3 separate regions of the Homo sapiens genome follow, and regions 1 and 3 are each linked to region 2. The links are contacts of gene promoters, found by promoter capture Hi-C in blood cells and fetal thymus (Javierre and others, 2016). All regions are on one chromosome and are shown on one strand. Each heading gives the region's core, a stretch centred on a gene start or on the middle of the fragment in contact. The rest is flanking DNA. Distances are from core to core; before and after follow the strand shown.

Evidence for each region. Contacts are between HindIII fragments. The CHiCAGO score rates a contact against its expected background, and 5 or more counts as called.
Region 1: a fragment that was not itself captured here is called in contact with the fragment with the promoter of ZNF667 in region 2 in 2 of 17 cell types (activated CD4 T cells and naive CD8 T cells); the score reaches 6.4 in activated CD4 T cells.
Region 3: a fragment that was not itself captured here is called in contact with the fragment with the promoter of ZNF667 in region 2 in 1 of 17 cell types (erythroblasts); the score reaches 6.9 in erythroblasts.

What each region holds. Positions count from the first base shown.
Region 1 is chr19:58,072,031-58,074,879 of GRCh38, forward strand. No RefSeq gene overlaps it. Among named protein-coding and RNA genes, the nearest start is that of ZNF135, 14 kb to the left of the region's middle. The HindIII fragment of the contact is 1,092 bases long and covers 798-1,889 here.
Region 2 is chr19:56,475,656-56,478,857 of GRCh38, forward strand. It overlaps ZNF667 (zinc finger protein 667), which reads right to left and starts at 1,690. Exons shown (of 7, transcript NM_001321356.2): 1 at 1,617-1,690. ZNF667-AS1 (ZNF667 antisense RNA 1) reads left to right here and starts at 2,219. Exons shown (of 2, transcript NR_036521.1): 1 at 2,219-2,726. The HindIII fragment of the contact is 7,484 bases long and covers 1-3,202 here.
Region 3 is chr19:58,105,913-58,108,954 of GRCh38, forward strand. It overlaps a transcript of ZSCAN18 not described here. Among named protein-coding and RNA genes, the nearest start is that of ZSCAN18, 9.2 kb to the left of the region's middle. The HindIII fragment of the contact is 4,764 bases long and covers 1-3,042 here.

The DNA.
Region 1 (2,849 bases), core at 94-2,593, 1.6 Mb after region 2:
TATTGGCACACAAGTAGAAGATCAAGTGGGAAAACAGGTGAATGCAGGTGAAATAAGAATGAGGGAGAGTTCTGAGGCTAGTTCAGAAAAGGCCATACAGCGTCTGTCTTTTTTTGCTGGAACACTTGTGCTTGGAGCCCTGAGACACCACTTGAGAAACCCACTGGCCCAAGGCCACCATGCTGTGAGGATGAAGCCACACAGGCTCTGCTCAGGGTGTCAGTTCACTCCTAGTCTGAATCTCCCCAGCCTCATCAGGCCTGTGACAGAACAGTCTTCAGATGATTCCAGCCTCCCAGCTTTCAAGGTACCTCAGCCTTCAAGTTCCCAGCTGAGGCCCCACACATGGTGGAGCCGACCAAAGTCATAAAGTCATCCTTGAATGTGCCTTTTTTTTTTTTTTGAGACAGAGTCTAGCTCTGTTGCCCAGGCCGGAGTGCAATGGCATGATCAAGGCTCACTGCAGCCTCCACCTCCTGGGCTCAAGTAATTCTCCTGCCTCAGCCTCCCAAGTAGCTGTGATTACAGGTGTGTGCCACCGTGCCTGGCTAATTTTTGTATTTTTAGTAGAGACAAGGTTTCACCATGTTGGCCAGGCTGGTCTCAAACTCCTGACCTCAGGTGATCCACCCGCCTTGGTCTCCCAAAGTGCTGGGATTACAGGAGCAAGTCACTGCACCCAGCCTGAGGTCTGTTTTTTTAACTGTGCAGGCAGCCGCTCCACTCCACACTGCCTCTTGCTCCTCCTCTGGCCATGTGATATGTCTGCTCCTACTTCCCCTTCCACCATGAGTAAAAGCTTCCTGAGGCCTCCCCAGAAGCTGAGCAGATGCCAGTGCCCTGCTTCCTGTACAGCCTGCAGAACTATGAGCCTGTTAAACCTCTCTTTTTTATAAATTACTCAATCTCAGGCATTTCTTGATAGTAACACAAGAACGGCCTAACACAGTGAGCACAGTTTCTGGGTGTGCAGCCATGAGACTGAGAGGAAGGTCTGGTTCTTTAGCAAGGAAAGGTTCTGTCTCTTTCTGGATGCAAAGGGAGAAGTATGCTGCCTACCACCTGCAAGCACAGAGAGGACCATCCTGTACAGAGTCAACTCAGAGAAGACAGCAAAGCCCAAACTCATCTACAATTCAAGCAGGGGCCCCACCCTGGACCTTGCATCCTGGTCTTTCACAGCAAATAAATAATAACCTCAGCTGGGCGTGGTGGCTCATGCCTGTAATCCCAGCACTTTGGGAGGCTTGCTCGAACCCAGGAGTTCAAGACCAGCCTGGGCAACATAGTGAGACCCCATCTATACAACAGATAAAAAATTAGCCAGTCATGGTAGCGTGTGCCTGTACTCCCAGCTACGCAGTAGGCTAAGGCAGGACTATCACTTGAACCCAGGTATTTGAGGCTGCAGTGAGGTATGGTTTCACCACTGCACTCCAGACCATGTTTCTAAAAAAAAAAAAAGTAAATAATATCCTAAAGTGTATACAATTTTGAGTTGGATTTCTGGTGACTGGCAGCCAAAAATGCATCTTGAGTGGAAGAATCGTAGAAAGTAGAGAATTAAGTATCCTTTGGCTTCCCATTGTGTTTCTGAAAAAAAGTCAGGAAAGCTGGTGCGATGGTTTGGATATTTGTCCCCTCCAAATCTCATGTTGAAATGTGATCCCCAGTGTTGGAGGTGGGGCCTAGTGTGAGGTATGTGGGCTATGGGGTGGATCCCACATGAATGGCTTAGTGCTGTCCTCATGGTAATGAGTGAGTTCTCCCTTTATGAGTTCACCCAAGAGATGGTTATTTAAAGGAGCCTGGCACTTCCTCCCCTCTCTCTTGTTTTCTCTCTCACTATATGATGCACCAGCTCCCCTTTGCCTTCCGCCATGATTGGAAGCTTCCTGAGGCCTCCCCATAGTGCAGATGCCAGCACTATGCTTCCTGTACAGCCTGCAGAACCGTGAGCCAAATAAATCTCTTTTCTTTGTAAATTACCCATCCTCAGGTATTCCTTTATAGCCGTGTAAACAGACTAACACAGCCAGGGCCGTTGGAAGTTTTGTGGAAGCACTGGGTAGGACTGACGTGTGGTAGTCACTGTCCCTCCTGAGTCTCCTCTTATACTGTATGTGAGAGGGAGATTCTTTCAGGCAGCAAGTATTTTCCAAGCACCAACTATAGCTCAGGCACAATTCCAGACTCTGGCAACTAAACTGATGAAACTCGTGGTCTCAGGAGCTTATATTTTGGTGGGGAAATGGAAAATAGAGAAATTAGGATGTTATGGGCACATTACACAGTAAGTGTTATGTAGAAACAAAATGGTCCAAGAAGGGAAACCCCAGGCTGGGCGCAGTGGCTCAAGCCTGTAATCCCAGCACTTTGTGAGGCCAAGGCAGGCAGATTGCCTGAGGTCGAGAGTTCAAGACCAGCCTGGCCAACATGGAGAAACCCCGTCTCTACTAAAAACACAAAATTAGCCGGGCATGGTGGCACGTGCCTGTACTCCCAGCTACTAGGGAGGCTGAGGCAGGAGAATCTCTTGAAACCGGAAGGCAGAGGTTGAAGTGAGCCGAGTTCGCACAATTGCACTCCAGCCTGGGCAACAAGAGCGAAACTCCGCCTCAAAAAAAAAAAAAAAAAAGAAGAAGGGAAACCCCAAGTCCTCTGGACTTTTTTTTTTTTTTTTTTTTTTTTTTTTTTGAGGTAGGGTTTTGCTTTGTCACGAAGGCTGTAGCTTCAACCTCCTGGGCTCAAATGATCTATCTGTCCCACCTCAGCCTCCTGAGTAGGTGGGACTACAGGCATGTGCCACCATGCCTGGTTAACTTTTAAATTTTTTTAGAGATGAGGTC
Region 2 (3,202 bases), core at 440-2,939:
AATGTCACAGTGCCAAGGCTGTGAAACACTGGTCTGGACAGAAACATTTCCAGACCCATGTGTTATATGGAAACATCCCTTAGTCCCTGACACTTCAAAGTTCTGTTCTTGACCCCATGGGCTCCCTAGGGACATCTCCATCAGGAAGATCCTTTGTTCCTGACCCCACCTCCTCTACCCTAATGCTGCCCTCCCAGGACCCTGCCTACACAATTCTGAACCTAAGCCCTGATCTAGACGTCCAAGTTATTTTACCTCTGGACCTGCAACCCTTACTCTGGGGCTCATCCTTTTGCATTTCTACCTATGGATTTTATTCTCCAGGTGTGGGACGCCTGCGGTTATTATGCTAATAATAAAACGATGATCATTGATGTGGCACTTCCTTGTGCCAAGTTCTACTTATGCTCACCATAAACCTGAGGTTGGTTCTGTTATTACTACTGTTTTACAAGTGAACCGAGGAGTGGTGGACTTAAGTAAGCTCTCTCAGTCACACAGCCAGCCAGTGGTGAAACCAGGAGTCAACACCAGACAGCGGGGCGCCACAGTCCATGCTCTTATTTTTCCAAGCTACCTTGGTAGGAAGGGGACACAACCATACTTAGCGTCAGTGGAGGGCTCTGTCCTCCACTCAAATGTACACATGCAGAAAACTGACGACGCAGGTGGTTGGCGGGGGCAGCGCACCACTGCTCAACTGGAGATGGTCAGATGCCCTGGTATGTGGACAAAGATAGCCCAGTCCGAAGCTCAGAGATGCAAAGTCCTCCAGTATTCACCACTACCTCTGCCTCTGTATAGGGTCAAAGAAAAACGACCACCAGCACCATAACCAACACCTAAACACGGTGATTAGTATGTGACAAGCTCTGTGCAGGGTGTTTCAGCTACGTCATCCCATTTAATCTTCCCAATAACACCCAGGCAGGTGCTATTAATATGCTATTTTACCAAGGAGGAAAGTCATGCACAATTAAACAGTTCCACAGATTTCCAGGGCAGCCCATCACATCTTAGAGCTGCTAAGAATTCTTCCCCTGTGGGCCTCCATTTCCATGGTTACAGTGAGATATACACCAGAAAGGCACAGTCACACACTCATAACCGCAAAGCCACTGACGCTAAGTGGCAGACAGACGCCCAGGCAAGTCACACAGTAACCCAAGGCTACAATAAACGCCCACATCAGCCTGACACTGACACACGCACACACTCCAGAAACACAAATCTTCACAGTCAGCGTCACACACCCACTCCCGGCTTCCCAATGGCTCCATTGTTTCCTTCGCGTGGGTCACGCAGCGATACACATCCGCGGTCCCGACATAGCTCCCTCACACACAGGCACACACGGCTCGCCTCACACGCGGCGCCAACTTCACACTTGGGCGCACAAGCCCCGAGAACCACAGCAGCGAAGGGCGCAAACCCCACGCCGTGGCGGGCCGAGAACCCACGCAGGCGCGAGCCCACCGCCCACGCAAGCACCCGCGCAGACGCCCACGCCATCGTGGATGCGCAAACCCACGCGCGCCTTGGCAGGAACGTCCACGCAGTGGCGGGCGCGCCGCCCACGCCCTCAGACACACCCACACTCTCGCCAGCCCCCTTACCTCGGTCTTCCCGGGCTCAGACCCCGGCGGCGACCACCGAGACAGCCGAGCAGGGACTCAGCGCCTGCGCACTCCCCTCCGGGACCCCGGGACCGCGCGCTGCACCCCCCTTCACACACGCACCACGCATGCGGGCGCGTGGCCCCGCCCCCAAACAAGGCCACGCGGCGTGCGCTCACCCGCCTCTCGGGGACAGTACCACCAGCCCCGGCCTGAGGCCCCGACCCCTCAGCGCCACACGCACAAGCGCGTTCGCACGATTGGTGCAGGCGGACGCGCGAGGTCCCGCGCCTGCGCACACCCCCGAGGCTGGCACGCACACCGGTCTCCTAGGGGACTGGCGCCTGGCCCTGCTTTTCATCCTCTCAGGAGATCACGTGTGGACACTGAGGCCCTTCCTCGAGCTCTTTAACCAAACCCAACCTCCCCAATTCGCCGCCTTCCCCGCTCCCACAACCACACGTTCCCGTGTGAGGGCTTATTGCCTCCAGCCAGCCAGCGTCCTTCGCCCCCACATTCACGAGGTTTGGAGCCGGCCTCACCCGCGGAGGCGGACACCGCCCACCCGCGCGTGCGCACTACGCAGTCATCCTGCGACCTCCAGAATCCACCGGGGTGCAGCGAGGCTGTGGAAAGTCCCACCCAGAACGTGAGGTGAAGAAGGCTTGGGCTGCGCTGGTTCTGCTCTGTCCGGGTCGGAGATGAACTGACCCGGGAGAGCAGCGGAGGGATGTTTCTTTTGGCCAACAGTGGGGACTCACCTGCACGTTTTGCGAAGAGGCCCACAGTCCTTTGCGTGGCGCTCGGACTACATTTCCCAACGGCCCCTGCACGCCCTGGGGGCTGTTCCATGCGGTGTTGCGCCTGCGTAGCCGGCGGGCTGGCAGTGAGACTGACTGCGTCGGGGTTGAGACTGGGTGGATGAGGCTCACCCCGGCGGGGAGAAGGGACGAGGAGGGGCGGACAGCGGAAGGTCCGGGAGTGTCCGCCATAAAGTCGTTTGAGGTGACCGTTGCGTAATTGTGAGTCTGTGAGAGAAGATGTGAAGTATGGCCTCGTCCCGGTCATCTGGGCGTGCGGGTCCCGGGTTTTGATCGCGCGTTTGTGTAGGTGAGACCCACATTGTGTTACCCTGAACATGTGTGAGGACGAACCTTTGTGTTTTCTTATACGTGTGTCTCTGAGGCGATTTTTGTGGTTTTGTACGTGGCGGGGGGCACTGATTTTGAATATGTGTGTATGTTCTGGACATTTGTTTAGCTTCTGCATCCACTTCTGCGGAAGGGCAGAGTTGAGTAGGTGGGAACAGGTACTGTGTGGCCCCACAAAGCCTGAACTATTTACTGTTGACTCTAGAGCCCAGTTTTTGCGGTGTGTACGTCTCTGTGGGGAACCACACATTTTGAATATGTATACTTGTGTATATTTACGTCTATTCTATGACTGCTTTTGCACAATGGCAGGGTTCAGTACTTGCAGCAGAGATCTTGTGGCCCATAAAGCCTAAAATACTATCCGACTAAGGTTTCGAGCCGTAGCCAGTTTTTGTGGATGAGTGTTGTGTGTGTGTGGGAAGCCAGTGATTG
Region 3 (3,042 bases), core at 210-2,709, 1.6 Mb after region 2:
AGGCTGCAGTGAGCTGAGATCGCGCCACTGCACTCTAGCCGAGGCAACAGAGTGAGAATCCTTATCAAAAAAGAAAAAAAAAGGTATGTATTTTGTAAGGCTATAGCTGCCATAGATAGTAATGATTCCTTGGATGGATCCAGGGAAAGTAAATTAAAAACCTTCTGGAAATGATTCACTATGCTAGATGCCATTAAGAGCATTCTAGGCCAGGCACAATGGCTCACACCTGTAATACTAGCACTTTGTCAGGATGAGGCAAGAGGATCACTTCGGCACAGGAGTTCAAGACCAGCTTGAGCAATATGGTGAGATGCCGTCTCTACAAAACATAAAAAAAATTAGCCAGGCGTGGTGGTGCATGCTGGTAGTTCCAGCTATGTAGGAGGCTAAGGTGAGAGGACAACTTGAGCCTAGAGGTCGAGGCTGCAGCGAGCCATGGTTGCAGCACTGCACTCCAACCTGGGCAACAGAATGAGACCATGTCTCAAAAGAAAAAAAGACATCTGGCTGGGCGCGGTGGCTCACGCCTGTAATCCCAGCACTTTGGGAGGCCGAGGCGGGCGGATCACGAGGTCAGGAGATCGAGACCATCCCGGCTAAAACGGTGAAACCCCGTCTCTACTAAAAATACAAAAAAAATTAGCCGGGCGTAGTGGCGGGCGCCTGTAGTCCCAGCTACTTGGGAGGCTGAGGCAGGAGAATGGCGTGAACCCGGGAGGCGGAGCTTGCAGTGAGCCGAGATCCCGCCACTGCACTCCAGCCTGGGCGACAGAGCGAGACTCCGTCTCAAAAAAAAAAAAAAAAAAAAAAAAAGAAAGAAAGAAAAAAAGACATCTGTTTTTTTTGTTTTTTTGTTTTTTTTTGAAATGGAGCCTCCTTCTGTTTCCCAGGCTGCAGTGCAGTGGCTCGATCTCTGCTCACTGCAACCTCTGCCTCCCAGCTTCAGGCAATTCTCCTGCCTCAGTCTCCTGAGTAGCTGGGATTACAGGTGTGCACCATCACGCCTGGCTAATTTTTTTTTGTATTTTTAGTAGAGATGAGGTTTCAGCATGTTGGTCAGGCTTGTCTCGAAATCCTGACCTCGTGATCTGCCCACCTTGGCCTCCCAAAGTGCTGGGATTACAGGCGTGAGCCACCGTGCCTGGCCAAGACATCTGTTCTTGAATAATGAGACTGGAAAGTCAAAATTACTCCTGATCTATGATGGGCTGCAGAATACATGTTGTGTTAGCAGGTGTGAGAACAACATTCATCTCCCTGTACATCTTCATCACAGCTCTTGTCAACAAGCAGCCATATTTTGAAAGGAATCTTTATTCTGAGGAAGTCTCAACAGTGGGTTTAAAATATTCAGCACAGGCCGGGCATGGTGGCTCATGCCTGTAATCTCATCACTTTTGGGAGGCCAAGGTGGGCAGATCACTTCAGGTCAGGAGTTCAAGACCAGCCTGACCAACATGGTGAAACCCTATCTCTACTAAAAAAAATACAAAACAATTAGTGTGATGGTGGGTACCTGTAATCCCAGCTACTTGCTCAGGAGTTTGAGGAAGGAGAATCGCTTGAACCCAAGAGGCAGAGGCTGCAGGGAGCTGAGATCACACTACTGCACTGCAGCCTGGGTGACAAGAGTGAAACTCTGTCTCAAAAATAAAATAAAATATTGAGTGCACCATGCGGTAAACACATGTGCTGTCATCCAGGATTTTTTCTTCCATTTATAGATGGAAAAACATATTTGTTACTTTCAAACAACATAAACTCTTCAACATGAAGTCTCTGACAAAGAGGAGGCAAAGAAAATCAGATCAGTCACTGCCACAGATGCTCACTGAATCCCCATAGGTCTCAGTCCAATGTGTCAACTCTGGTTTCTAGCGAGAGCACAGATACTTGGGAAAACTTTCCCACACTAGACACACTGGCACAAGGTCGCCTGAGCATGTACCTTCTTGTGCTTGGTCAGACAGGAGCTGTCCCTGAAGGCTTTGCCACACCGATTACACTCGTAGGGCTTCTCACCAGTATGAGTCCTCTGGTGCCAGATGAGGCCCGCGATGTTCCTGAAAAGTTTGACACTGGTTACAGCCACAGACCTTCTCACCAGTATGAATCCTCTTGTGCCTGATGAGGTACATAATCTCAGTGAAAGATTTTTTCACATTGTTTAACTCATGAGATTTCTTTCCAGAATGATTTTTTTGATGCAAAAGAGCTGACTGTTGTGGTTGGAGAATTTTTCACACTCCATACACATATAGGGTCTCTTTCCAATGTGAATTCTCCCATGTTTAATAAGTTATGTGTGATCAATGAAGGCCTTTCTACACCCAGTACATACATAGGGCTCCCCTCACATGTGAATTCTCAGATGGACAATAAGGTTGGAGACATCAGAAAAGGATTTTTCACATTCATTACATTCGAATAGTTTTTCCACAGTATGACTTCTGAAATGCAAAACAAGGGAAGAGTGGCAGCTGAAGGTCTTCCCATACCAATTCCTTTCACAGGGCTTCTTTCCTATGTGGGTTTTCTCATGCTTGGTAAAGGTGGAGCCAGCACTGAAGGCTTTCCCACTTCTTGCATTTATAGGATTTCTCTCCTGTGTGGATTTTTTGATGTACAATCAGGTTGTAATTCTTAGAGAGGGATTTTCCACAGTCATTACAGGTATAAGGGCTCTCTCCAGTATGAGTCCTCTGGTGACTGATGAAATGAGATTTCGGTCTAACGGACAGTCCACATTCACTGTCATTGTATTCATTTCCAGAGATACTTCCATTGTGTTCATAAGGACATGTGTCCCTATCAAACACCTCCTCGTGTCCTTCTCCTTTGTGTTGTTCCTTTCTCTGGCAATTACATGTTGTTCACTAAGGTGTGTAGAAAGGCTGAAGGAGTTACCACCTTCGTTACATTTTGAAGGCTCATCTCCTTGTTAGATCTTCATCAAGGTGGCTAGGTTGTCCACCCTGGCTGATGGCTGCTCTACAGTCATCATTTTCCTCAAGAATTTGACCGTTAGAGCCTTTCTGA